2 separate regions of the Homo sapiens genome follow, and region 1 is linked to region 2. Evidence: promoter capture Hi-C in 16 types of primary human blood cells and fetal thymus (Javierre and others, 2016). All regions are on one chromosome and are shown on one strand. The core of a region is centred on a gene start or on the middle of the fragment in contact, and the rest is flanking DNA. Distances in the headings are between cores, read along the strand shown. Region 1 overlaps RALYL (RALY RNA binding protein like). Region 2 holds the start of CA13 (carbonic anhydrase 13).

Region 1 (6,802 bases), core at 3,161-5,660, 620 kb after region 2:
AGAATGGACTTCTAATATTATCATCTGCTTTAAACATAGCAAATATTTAGTTGGAAAAAAATTTCTTCCCATTTTAAAGATGGAAATGGAAGTCTAAGATATGTGTCTTAGTTCATTTGGGCTGCTACAGCAAAATACTCTCAACTGGGTAGCTTATAAACAATAAACATTTTATTTTATTTCTATTTCTTACAGTTCTGGAGCCTGGGAGGTCCAAGTCAAGCCACTGGCAGATTCTGTGTCTTATGAGGTCCTGCCTTCTTGTTCATAGACGGCATCTTCCAGCTGTCCTCTCGCATGGTGGGAGGGGATAATGAGCTATTTTATAAGGACACTAACCCCTTTCAATAGGCCTCCAGCCTCATAACCTAATCACTTCCCAAAGGATGCCCTTCCTAATATCATTTTAGGAGTTACAATTTCAACGTATGAATTTGGCAGGGGGGTGGGGTGGAAACAAGCTTTTAGAACATAGCAGTTTGGAATTTGCTTAATAATATGGAATTTGTTTAATAATATAAATAAGTAATGCCAATTTAGATTAATAAAATGTCTTCACCTTTAAGTAACAGTTGTTCAAATCATACAAATAATTTTGTGTATAATTTTTCCAGGACCATATGAATCCGCAGAATGTAAGTCCTAATGCCATCAATTATATCAAAAAGAAGGATGTTGGAGAAATCAATGAATAGTTTCTACTACTGACTTTCTCCCAAGACTCTGTTCCTGACCCTCTTTCTTTCCAGTACTTTCAGTCTTCCTCTATCCTGAATTCTATACCTCAGTCTACACTTATGTACAGATCTTCATATCAAAAAAAAAACTGTCTTTTTGACCCTGTTTACCTTCTGAAGCTACCATCTTGAAAACAGTGCTATCTTGAAAATTATGATAATTATACTCATGTATTTGAGCAGTGTTACACAGGTTTCAAAAGATTTTCATATAATTTATCTTTCATCCCATGACAGCCTTAAGCAGTTTTGTTGGTATTTTTGTTTTTCAAACGAGAAAGTGACACTCAGAGATTAATACTTCTTCAATTTCCAAACACTAAAAGGCTTTTAAAAGATCAAGTCAGAACTCAAATATGAACCCACAAAAAATAAACTGAATGATTTTTGGGCGGGAGTCACCTTAAGAGAACAACATGAACTAAGCTAATACCATTTTCATACAGTCCATATTTCTTTTCTTGGACAATAAGAGGGATTTCTGAAAGACAGACTTTGCTAAGATAGGCAAAGACCTTGCTGAAATGCAGAAACATTATAAAGGCATTTATAAAATTTATCAACCTAGTGACACTATCAAAACATGAAATAGGGTTTGGGACTTGTTGGTAATCTCCTTATGATCACACTTTTCTTCCACGATGTTTCTAAAATAACTATATGCCTTCTAGAATTTTTACCTGGTTTTAGTGTCAGGTTCACCTGTCTGTTGTTCATGCAATGCATCCTGATAATAAAAACGTTTATGTTTCAATCTTCTGATGCTCTCCAAATCTCCTTAATTTTATAAAATCTAATCTAATTTGCAAGTTTTTCTTCTTGCATTCCAAGTTTAAATTCTTTGGAAAATGCAGATGAATTGGTTAAATTATTTTGCTTTTTCTGATAATCTTCACATTTCTACTCTCCTTCACAGATGTTTATGGAGTACCTACTCTCCAACAGCCATTGAGCTGGGCACAGGGAATACAGCCATTACCACTGTCATTTAACAGTTTTTAGTTTGGTAATGTCAGCAAAAATATTTTGGTGTTTAGTTTTCTCAAATCAACTTCATTTAACAGTTTCTAGTTTAGTGAGGCCAAAAAACATTTGGGCCTTCAGTTTCCTCAACGTCCTAATTTAAAGATGAGCATTATTGAGGAGAAACATGGAAGCAGCGGAGAAACTGCATCATCCTTCCCACTTACCCACCCAAAATTCCTTTTGAAACTATGCATATTCTAAGCAATCAAACTGACTCATCATACTTCCCTTTTTCTTGGTTGAATATAGGGTTTCTTCTTGTTGTTGTTTGAAGTTTTTTAAAGTTTGGTGGCCTCCCTGGCTATCTTCATGTACCTGTCCTGAATTATGACTCAACCCTCCACACTAGTAGGTCCCAGTTACACTAAGAGTTCTTTGGAGAGCACACTAGGTAGCCAAGCTGTATTTAGGGTGGCTTTCCTGTTACTAATTAGTGAAACATTTGTAATGTCAAATATTCCATTTTCAGAGCCTTCTACTCATTCTGAATTCCATTTCCAATTAAGAGTCTATCTTTGTTTTTAATATTATTTTTGTCATTTGTTGTGCTAATCTTAGCTGGAAAAAATTCTAAATCATATAGCCTGATTGTCCTAAACTTCCCTTTGCTTAAATGATGTTTTCTCTTGGTAATCAGAATTAAGCTTGGAGTTTCAAGCCCTTATTTCTTTTCTCAGTTACTCAGAGTTGATGCTCTTTGAAAGGAAAATTAAAATGCTGCATGACCTTTAGCATGTCATTTAACATTTTTGGATGTCAGCATAGTCATTTATAAAATTTCTGGAGTAAAGTTTCTCTTAGAAAACCATATATCCTTTTGGTTTTTCATCCAAAAATGCATACTCATTGTAGGAAAATTAGAAAACACACAAAAGGGGAAAATAATCACACATAATTCCACTTGAAAACCACTTTCAGTATTGTAGTGCATAACCTTTCAAGCTTTAGTCTATGAAATACTGTGTGTATATACACACACACAAATATATGCTCTATTGTATATTATTATACATATTACACAGACTGTTCTGTCATATGAGCTGAATTTACCCTGAGCAATATATGTAACATATCTTTACATCTCCACTGTACCATTTTCATTGTTTGCTTAGGTTTGCATTCCATGGAATTTCCAGAATTTGTTTAATGAATCTGCCATTATTGAGGATTAAGTCTTATTCACTATTATTATAGAAGTGTCACAATGAATATCCTTATATATTTGTATTGCTCACTTATTTTCCTAGGGTGAATGCCCAGAAGTAGTATCTAAGTCTCAGAATATATGCATTTTGGAAGTATTTTTCCCACACTTTCACATTATTTCCAGCACAATATTGTAGTCACTTTTATTTCTGTCCATTAAAGAAAAGTTTATTGAGCCCCTGCTATCTAGGTGAAGGAGATACTAAAGTTAACAAAATAGACAAAGGTTTCTGCCTTCTTGGAGCATACATTCAATAAGGCAGGACAGTCAATAGTCAGATAAATAAAATACCTAGTATATTAGAAGGTGATATGCACAACAGAGAAAAACTAGGGAAGTCACCTAGAGGATTCAATTTCAATAACAGCCTAGATTTTCTGTAGCCACTTCCAGTGTATTATAATCCTGAGTCAAGGTTCTAGGTGTAATTAAATGCTGTGCTTTTTGCTGAGTCAATCAGGCATCCAGATAGTTGAGATGTCTATAATGGCAGTTATTTTTTGTATCTATGCCTATTAGATTATCTGTTTCAAAAGATTATCCTCCACATTTTTTTTTACTGGACAGACCATCTGAAATAAGATCTTTCACCATTAATATTTTTGTTTTTTACCATTAACAATTTTTGGTTTTAATAAACAAAAATTATTTTCCAAAATAACTTCCATCAGTATTTCAATCTGAGATTGTAGATGCTCATGGAGACTGCTACTGTTATTCCTGCTAGGCCCCTCTATCCACCCTTCTTACTTGGTGTTTCCTTCAGCAGCACCCTACCGTGATGGTCCTCCCCATCAGCACTCTATCCCCCGATATTTCTCAACAAAATGTTATGATTTTACTTACCATTTTCTGTGATGATTTCTTCAGAATTTAACTGCAACATGAGTTGATGTAAAAATATATTCATTTACTCTTTTGGTGAATATTAATAATCACCTACTCTGTAGGACTTAAATAATGTAGTAGGTAAAAGTAAGTTTGTCTACCCTCAAAGGAATTTATATTCTAACAAGGGAAATAGACAAGCAAATAAATGTTCACAAATTAGGAAGCACCGTGAAGAAAATACACAATCATGCCTATTGGGGATCATAATGGGATAGGGAGTGAGGAAGGCCTTTTTGAGGAGGTGTTACTAAATCTGAAACTTGAAAGATGAGGAAGAGCCAGGGAAACTAAGAACTAATTAAAATTAAGATGTGTGAATGCAGGAAGAAAATATTCATGGGCTGAGAAGTTGCATAAATGTTGGTGACTATGGAATAATGAAAAGAGGAAAGAGTTACTTAAGAAAAGAGGAGCGAAAAATACCAGCCAAACTGTATCAAGTTTAGTAGTTAGGATTGTACTCTGCATCTAACAGTAAGTCATTGAAAGGTATTACACAATGAGTGGCATTAGTTGTATTTATATTTTTAAAAGATTACTTTGAGATTCCAGAGAATAGATTGAAAGACGGCAAAAGAGAAAGACGAAACAGCAATCAGGAGTCTAATATAACGGTCCAAATGGAGAATTTTAGAGTGGATCAACTTTTGACAATGGAAATAGACATGAATTTAGTGGGGTACAATTTGAAATAGATTTGATAGGGTACATTGAAGGATTGAATTTAAATATGGGCATTAAAGAAGAGAGAGGAAACAGACGGGTGTGAGATTTCTCATTTGAACAGTGAAAGAATGGATGGTCATATCATTCATTATGGTGGGAAAGTGAAAAACATCAATAATTCAATTTTATCTATAAGACCTCAGCTCATAGAATAGGTCTGAGCTAGAGAAATAAATCTGGTATTTAACAGAATACAGAGAAAGAAGTGAAAGAGACAGGGGAAAAGAAGCTGAGAAAGAGTGGCCAGAAATGCACGAAGAAATCTAGGAGAACACAGGAAGAAAGTGTTTCTTTCTTCTGCAGGAAGAAAGAAATGCTGTATGTATTAAAGAGACCCTAGGAGATAAAAACTGAAAATTGTCCATGAATTTGGAATCCTAGCCACTCGATAAGACCTCTCTCTGGAGAGCAGTGAAAGGCACACTAGATGACTGTAAAATTAAGAATGACAGTATTTCCATTGAGGCTTCCTCCCAGCTATGCCTTAGTATAAAAACATCATCTGGGATAGGGATTTCAGGTACCCAGATTCTGAACAAAGAACTGGAAAATTATCATGGTCTAAGAGAGAGATCATTCCAAAAAGACTGATCACCCTGCGAGAAAAAATAGGAGGGATTATTTGACCTGGAAAGACGAATGCTAAGTTGAAGACTTCAGAAGCCCTTTTTAGGTCATTCAATCCAACCCTGAAAGGTTAAGAACCATATGCTTCTATTGTTGCAGTAATTTAAAAGCGTTGTAACAGATTTTGGATATTAAATTGAAGATACATTGTTAAAGAGCAAGAGTGTACCAGAGGCAGTATAAATGTGTAAGGTGAAGGGAGATAATAGTACTAATTTTTTCTTTGTCTAGAATCAGTTCTTTACATTTTCCTTGGAATAGGGGTTTAATTGACTGGTCTGTCAGTGTCACACGAAATAAGGCTGTGAAAGCGCAGCAAACTGTAAGGTGCTCTACCAATACCATTTATTGTTACTCTCTTCTAAAACATTATTGATTAAAGGTTGAAGACTAATATTTATTAAAACTTGGCAGGATCATACACAAAATAGAATGCAGCTTGACAATATACTTGTGTACAGTCAATCACCTGCTTTAAATGAATTCCAAATTTGATTCAGACTTAACAAAGTTTCTCAAGTAGTTATATATTTATGCTTTTTCAGTGTCTCTAAACAATTTTTAAAATCAATATTCCTGGATTAATTAATGTTTTTCAGGAATCTCAATTTTCATTTTAAATAATCTGAAGCTGGTTCTGAATACTCACTGAATTAATTTTTATGTTCCTTGTCAAAGAGAACCTAAATTTTTAGAGGAATATTCTGAAAATTTAAATGTCTTTTATTCCAGCTAGTGTTTGACTGGATTGATTTTCTTAATAAACAAAATCAGTGTGAGGAAATGTGAAGAAATGACTCCATCGTGTGGTCAGAAACTAATAATACAACAGAAGTGGAGAATGAGAGGTCTTTAGACATTCAGAATTTCACTGACAAATCATGCAGAGAGTAAAGCTTGGGCGGAATTCGCACAATGCAGGCGCACAAATGCCGCCGCCTAGTGGCACAGCCTGGAATTCTCACATGCAGCTTTATCTCAGTATGTTCAACTTAAACGTATTTTCCGCTCTTATTAAGTGTTCTCTAACTTAGTAAATTACAAAAGTTCAAAAGTCAAACTATAGTACTGAGTGTTATCTCTTATCTCATTTTTATTATATCACATACTCCTGTATACAAATATCACATCCTGTTATTTTACTTCCTAAATATTTATCATTTTCAGCCTTTTTTTTCTTTGCTAACTCTGCTATATTTTTGTCATATTTTACTTGGATAAGTGCCCCTGTCTCTGAATTACCTTTTAGCGTGTTTCTCTTTTTATCACTTCCCACTCCCTCCACATAACCACAACCACAATGACAACCACAGTGACATGTGACTTGACCATGACACTCTTCTGTTTAACCCCATCAAGGGAGCCCCTCCACCACTGGTTAAGGTTCCAGCTCTAACAAAAACTCCTGCTGACATTCCTTATCATTCACCACTCTTTGCTTTATTCTTTATATTCTGGTCATCCTGAGAGCTTGTATGGTGTAACAGAATCTTTGATTTCAGACTTCCAGAGTTTTAAACCTTGGATTTGCTATACATTGTTGGCAAGTTGCTTAACCTCTTTGTGCCTCAGTTCCCTGAACTAATGA
Region 2 (7,417 bases), core at 3,992-6,491:
TTTCTTTCAACAAACATACATTGAGTATAACACACTGTGCTTGAAATTGAAGAAAACGCAAAGATTAATAAAATGAGATTCTCGTCCTCAGGACCTTGGCATCTAATTGTTTTTTTTTACAAGATTAGTTGTTTTTATTATAGATGTGGGAAACTCTTGGTGTGCCTTAAGTCATGTTCAGAATTAAAGTAACCCTTGTAGACAAGAGTCTGTAAATTTTATAAAATACTCTCCAAAGGTAACCTTCTACCAAACTAAAAACAATAATACAACTCATCATTGAAAACAATGACATTCAGTCTCAGCTCCAAAAATGAGCTATTGCTCCAGAGTTCAAGTTTGCAGATTGGAAGAGTCAAAAAAGCTGAGAAAGCCATGAAGCAAAGAAAGGGTGTCATTCTTAAAGATGCTGTGCTTACTTCTTTATTCTTCCTTCTATCACTCAATGCTATCGTCTAGTGTCACTCAGGCCTCCACTCAATTACCTGTGATGTGCAACAGGCATACCAAGGAAACACACAAATTTTTCACCTAGGATAATCCAAATAAAATGGCTGCACCACGTCAGGAAACGTAATATTGTTGATTATCTGCAGTAGAGTCAGATTGTAATTTATTTCTCTCTTTCTTCATTTCAGAAGGTTCTTCTATGGTTATTTTGCCAATGTTACATTTGAATTTCAACACAAGAGAAAGGTATCATCCTGGTCCTCTACTCAAAAACGTCAAAATCGTATCAAGTTCACAAATCAGACATGTTAGGGAAATTGAAACGAGCCAATCAGCTAACAGTTCCCTTTTCAATCCTCTTCACTTCTTTGGAAGACTCTATAAAGTCTTGCCTCTCAAAATCAGCAGCAAAGCTGTAGTTTCACGTAAGTTCCATGTCATTCTACAGATGTGAGTCACTTTATAGGTTATAGGTTCTTATTCTCTCTACTATTCCTGAAATTTATACAGCTATCACCACCTACACTGGGCTACTGACTAAGGTTTACCCACCTACTTTGCTAACCAATCTTTCACTAAAAATCAAGTACTAATTAAAACATCATAGCATGACAATTAATTAAACCTGTTACTAACGACAACCAAAAACATTTTAAAATGATAAAATTTAGAGTAATATTTAAAGAAATGCAATATATCACAATCATCAACAAACTTTAAAGCATAAAATTCTAAATCTTTTTTTTTTTTTTTTGAGACAGGGTCTTGCTCTGTTACCCAGGCTGGAATGCAGAGGTGTAATCTCAGCTCACTGCAGCCTCAACTTCCCAAACTCAAACAATCCTTCCACCTCAGCCTCCCAAGTAGCTAAGAGTACAGGTGTGCACCACCACACCCAGCTACTTTTATAAAAAACTTTTTTTTGTTGAAAGTCTCACTACAGGCTGGTCTCAAACTCATGGGCTCAAGTGATCCGCATGTCTCAGCTTCCTGAAGTGTTGGGATTACAGGCATGAGCCACCACGCCTGGCCCAAACTCTAAATCTGATACTGCTTACTATGCCTCATTTTTGCAAAAGAGAACTCACACATACATACATTCTTTCATATATGCTTCAGGCACAAAAAGTCATAGCATAAATATATAACTATACACTCAGCTTAAAAGATGTCATCTGACAAACTGGACTTCAAAGCCACTTGAGCATCAGAAGTCCTTGCTTAGAATGTATTACAGAAAAAGCCTTTTTTATTCAATACTTTCACCATCTTTCTGAGTACTTTTTCTATATATAACCTAGACTTTTTTCCCCCTTAATTCAGAAAAAGCCTTCTATTTCACTGCCACCAAGTAAGAGTTAACCTAACGAAAATTCAATTTCAAATGCGCAATGCATGTGTTACAATATGCAGGTGACATTCTTCCAATCAATAGAGTTGCTTTCTTCTCCTAATTGCTTTGCTCTCCTATTTCCAGTCATTTATAAACAGAACTATTTTAAAAAGAAGTCAAACCAAAATAAAATAAAAGTAATAATTGTTTGTATCACATTCCCAATATTATCTACTAACTACCATAGTCAGTTCAGTACCCTGCCTCTTAAAGAGGTCCCCTTTTTCAATTTTTCCAAAAAAAATTTCCTCCTCTCCTCCTTCTCCTTGTCCCCCCCATGACCCTGCAGGCTAGTCTGGAACTCCTGGCCTCAGGCAATCCTCCCATCTCAGTCTTTTGAGTAGCTAGGATTACAGGTGCAAGCCACCATAATTCTTTTTCTTTTTTTTTTTTTTTTTGAGACAGAGTTTCACTCTTGTTGCCCAGGCCGGAGTGCAATGGCGTGATCTCCGCTCACTGCAACCTCTGCCTCCCAGGTTCAAGCAATTCTCCTGCCTCAGCCTCCCAAGTAGCTGGGATTACAGGCACGCACCACCACGCCCAGCTAATTTTGTATTTTTAGTAGAAACGAGATTTCTCCATGTTGGTCAGTCTGGTCTTGAACTCCCGATCTCAGGTGATCCACCCACCTTGGCCTCCCAAAGTGCTGGGATTACAGGCATGAGCCACCGTGCCCAGCCAGCATAATTCTTAATTAGAGATATGTGGTGGTTGCTCAACTGATTTAGGAACTTTTAAATACCTACAGTGATATACACTTTTCAGTGATGTCACATTCGCTAAACTAAACTAATAAAGTAGTCAAAGGTTAGGGGAAGAATCCTAAGTTATTTGTGAAGGCAGTACCCTTTCAGGGCTTCAAGTCTTGATGTTTTATTTTATCAGTGTTGCTATTCCCAGCTTAAGTTTCCTTTTATCTGCTCAGTCACTGGTTTACCAATGTTTAAACAGAAAAAAAAAAAAAAACAAAAAACTTGCCTAGTTAGGCCCAGAGCTGTGGCTCATGCCTGTAATTCCAGTACTTTGGGAGGCCAAGGCAGGCAGATCACTTGAGGTCTGGAGTTCTAGACCAGCCTGGCCAACATGACGAAACCTTGTCTCTACTAAAAATACAAAAATTAGCCAGGCATGGTGGCTCATGCCTATAATCCCAGCTACTTGGTGGGGCTGAGGCTGGAGAATCGCTTGAACCCAGGAGAGGGAGATGGCAGTGAGCCAAGATAGTGCCACTGCACTCCAGCCTGGGCAACAGAGCAAGACTCATCTCAAAAACAACAAACAAACAAACAAAAAACTTGCCTAGTTAGTATATAATACATTTCCAATAGGATTTTCCCAATCTTTCTCTGAAGACCACACCTTTAAGTAAGGATGTGGTCTTCAGAGAGAGATCGCATCTAAAAGAAAGGAATGGCTAATTCCTAACAGAACAATTCCTAACAGAAATACAAAATCACTCCTTATTAATGGCTTTGCTAAGATGAATTTTTAAAATTGCTGAAATAAGCTTCATTCAGGTGAATAATTTCTAACCTACTAAAGAGTAATCAATATCCATTGATTGATTGATTGAAATACCCTTCTTCTTCCTAACTACCATAAAGGCGCAGTTGGGATTCAATGACTATTAAATAACTCCAATAAAAACGACTTCAGCAGAGAGGGAAATGAAAAAAGATTTGTCATATTTTCCCCCTAAACATTCACTGGAAATTAGCAAAATGTAAGATTATAATTATGGCCTTAATCAAGAAGAAATCTGACTATACACCTTTTATTATTAAAGTTATAAATTTCACCTGCTGCCATTTTTAAACTAGCATGTTTAAAAACAGGCTACAATTAGAAATTAAACAGGCTACAATTAGAAATAGAATTTTTCTGTTAGTTTGTGAAATTAAACTTTCTATAAAATTTGACCATTCTATACTGTTTAATCATGTACATGCTAATAGAAGGAAAGCATTATTATTCACAGCCTTAATTTTTTTCTTTATTATGTATTTACTTCTTAAATTGACAAAAATTGTATATATTTATGTGTACAACATGATGTTTTGAAATATATGCACATTGAGGAATGGCTAAACTAAGCCTTAATTTTGACAGTTATTCACTATAAGGCTTTTTGGTGTCACTGCGATTATTTCAAATAATTATTATTTAAACAATCAGTTCAGTTTAACGTAGGAACAAGAAAAAATGTTTTACTTTTGATAATGTGTGATATACAAGAAGAAAAGTGTATGTCATTATTATTTATCCTATTAATACATTTCTATCAATGAATTATAATTTCAGTAATCCTTTGCTCACCCTGCAAGGATGAGCGTGGAGAAGAAGAGTGGAGAAGTAACCCACAATGTAACTTAATTTCCCAGCGAGAACCTGAACCCTTACTAAAGTCCCCAGTAGTAGTCAGCCAACTGCAAATTGCTGTGGGAATATTTACAGTAACAACTATTAGGAAACATGCAGTATTTTGTTTGCCACGAAGCCAACTTAATCTTCAGTGTCACAATGCAAGTTAAGATTTCCTAAATATATTTTTAAAGATTTTCTATGATTTGTTTCTCCTAAGTGAATAGTGAGCTTAAAAGACTGAAAGCGAACTTGTCCTTATTTCACTGAAGTGTGTCATCAGACTTCTGATCTCCAAGCCTGTAATTGATACGTGGCTGTTACTAGGCAAAGTCCTTGGCTTTTCAGATGAAGGTGAACTCACACGTATGAACACTTGGGAGTTTGGGGAATCCTGACAGAGATAACACACACCAACGCTCACATCCACCACCAACAACCCGTCTACCCTGACAAGACTGCTCTCCGCTTCTCGCACTGGGCTCCCAGGAGTGCTGCTTAGTTTAAAGAGGAACCGAAAAAGTTTCTCAATGTGCGAGCCCAGTGTGTGGTCAGCGAGCGCCGGGGCGTCGCGCTAGTCCTCTCGTCCCCCGCACAAACCCCCCCTTGGATCAGGAAAAGGCGCTCACCGTTGTGCTCGCGGTATCCCCAGCTGAGCCTCGACATGGTCCCTCGGGGTGGAAGGAAGAGAAAGATGTGACTGAGCAGCGAGAAAGAGGAGGGAGCGGGGAGGGGCCCGGGAAGGAGCCTGCTAGGGCGGGACCGCGGGGCGCCGGCGGCAGGAGTGCGAGACCGTGAACCCGGTCCGGGGCGCTCCCGCCTGCGTCCTCCAGACGGCAGAGGCGTGCGGGGAAGGCGCCCGCGCCGCTGGCTGACTCCTGGGGCGCGAGTCTCTCTTAGTTTGGACTCGGGAATGAGAGATTTGAGTTAGAGGGAGAGACGGAGAGAGAAAGGTTTCCGGGGGGGATCTCCTGCCTTCTGAGGAGTCGTCACTCGGGAGAGGAAAGTGTTGCCTAGAGGACTTCCAGGAAGTGAATGAGTCACCAGAGCCTGGAACTGCCAGGCTGGGAGGTGGGGATCCCGGTGGAGGCGTAAAAGAGGTCGGTGATGGTCGTGGCAGTGATGATTACAAATACAAAACAATAATGACGATGGTAATCACCACCACTGAAAAATAACTACTTATTAAGGGCTTATCGTGGGCGAGGGTCTTAGCTAAGACGTGTACCCACGTTTTCCCATTAGATCCTCTCAGCATTTCCTCGAGAAACACGTGGCTTAAGTTAGAGACACTATGTAACCTGCCCCGGGTCGCTCAGCTAAAGCGGGCGGGGTCGCTGTTAGAGAGGACCAGCTCCCGGTCCTGGGCTGGCTCCATTGCCCATTCATCCTTTCCTTACCTCTTCTCACTCTGCAGGCTTGTGGCTTGGTGAGTGAGGAAACCAAAACCAGTTGTTGAGATTTGGTCCCAAAATTCTGCTGCCCTCCTGACCCCGCAAGAAGGGTTTTCAGGACATCTGCCCTGGATTCTTGGTGGGCTTGTTACCCTAGGACTGGAGTCAGAACTAGCTGCAGAGTCTTGAATTTCTGGCCTGGAGTCGTGAATGTTCTGGGTTCAAAGTGAAAAATAAAAATTGGGTACATGAACCACTTTCTACGTCCTTGTCTCGGGTCAACTGCCTCATATTTTATAAATCCAAGCAACCTCTTTGTAAGGAACCTAGTAAACCAATTTTCAGTAACTCGGATGATTTGGTATGTCAAGATGAATAATGCTCTTAACGTTCTAAGTAAGTATCAGTTCTTGACACCCAATAATAGTGGTTACATGAATGGATGAATGACTGAATAGACCAAAATTGTTAAAGAAATTTTGGTTGGTGGGTCTCAAATACTTCCCAAATTGTTACTTTTATTGCTTGGGTACACAGTTTGTAACCACCCAATGGGTTTACCTTGCCCACTGTCAAGACACAGCTGATTTATCAAGACAGGGGAATTGCAATTCATAAAGGGAAATTCACGTAGAGCCGGCTGTGCAGAGGACTGGAGTTTTATTATTACACAAATCAGTCTCCGCAAGCATTGGGGATCAAAGTTTTTAAGGACAATTTGGTGGGTGGAGGAGAGCCAGTAAGTCGGGAGACCTGGTTGTTTGGGTCAGAGGTGAAATCATAGGGAGTCAAAGCTGTCTTGCATTAAGTCAGTTCCTGGGTGGGGGCCATGGGATCAGATGAGCCAGTTTATCGAGCTGAGTGGTGCCTGCTGATCCATCCAGTGCAGGGTCTGCAACATATCTGAAGCACTGGTCTTAGGCTTTACAATAGTGATGTTATTCCCAGGAGCAATTTGGGGAGGGTCAGAATCATACAGCCTCCAGCTGTATGACTCCTAAACCATAATTTCTAATCTTTTGGCTAATTTGTTAGTCCTGCAAAGGCGGTCCAGTCCCCAGGAAAGAAGGTTTGTTTTGGGAAAGGGCTGTTATTGTCTTTGTTCTAAACTATAAACTATGTTCCTCCTCAAAGTTAGTTCAGCCTATGCCTAAGAATGAGTAAGGACAGCTTAGAAGTTAGAAATAAGATAGAGTTGGTTAGGTCCAATCTCTTTCACTGTTTCAATTATAATTTTGCAGTAGTGGTTTCAAGTTCCTTCTTGTTTAAATTCATAGCGCAGTCTATATAATTTTCTAAAACAGCAACCTAAGTATTGGCAACAATCAAATTACCTTTCATAGGAAACTAGTTAGGTCATCTGTAGAGCATCCATCATTCAATGGACTTATATATATATATATTTTTTTCAGATGGAATTTCGCTCTTGTTGCCCACGCTGGAGTGCAATGGTGCGATCTCGGCTCACTGCAACCTCCACCTCCCAGGTTCAAGCAATTCTCCTGCCTCAGCCTCCAGAGTAGCTGGGATTACAAGCATGCATTACTAGTGGCTAATTTTTGTATTTTTAGTAGAGATGGGGTTTCACCATGTTGGCCAGGCTGGTCTCCAACTTCTGACCTCAGGTGATCCACCCGCCTCGGCCTCCCAAAGTGCTGGGATTACAGATGTGAGCCACTGCGCCCAGCTGCCATTCAATGGACTATTGTCCATTTATAAAAAGAATGAAGATCTCCATGAGCAGAGCAGATATAAAGTGAGTCCTGGGATGTATTGAGGTTGCGGGAGCGGGGGAAGCAAAGGAGCAAAAGAGTGTATA

The links. The method cuts DNA at HindIII sites, captures the fragments that hold promoters and counts their contacts. A CHiCAGO score of 5 or more calls a contact.
Region 1: a contact is called between a fragment that was not itself captured here and the fragment with the promoter of CA13 in region 2, in 6 of 17 cell types (M1 macrophages, megakaryocytes, endothelial precursors and 3 more). The highest score is 7.7, in M1 macrophages.

Annotation. Positions count from the first base shown.
Region 1 is chr8:84,625,628-84,632,429 of GRCh38, reverse strand. All of the region lies in intron 2 of RALYL (RALY RNA binding protein like), which reads right to left. Among named protein-coding and RNA genes, the nearest start is that of RALYL, 450 kb to the right of the region's middle. RefSeq lists an enhancer at 5,982-6,276. The HindIII fragment of the contact is 3,405 bases long and covers 2,708-6,112 here.
Region 2 is chr8:85,243,282-85,250,698 of GRCh38, reverse strand. It overlaps CA13 (carbonic anhydrase 13), which reads right to left and starts at 5,241. Exons shown (of 7, transcript NM_198584.3): 1 at 4,834-5,241. The coding sequence starts at 4,870. LOC105375936 (a long non-coding RNA gene) reads left to right here and starts at 7,214. Exons shown (of 3, transcript XR_929126.3): 1 at 7,214-7,354. RefSeq lists an enhancer at 4,437-4,546 and a silencer at 4,907-4,986. The HindIII fragment of the contact is 11,713 bases long and covers 3,353-7,417 here.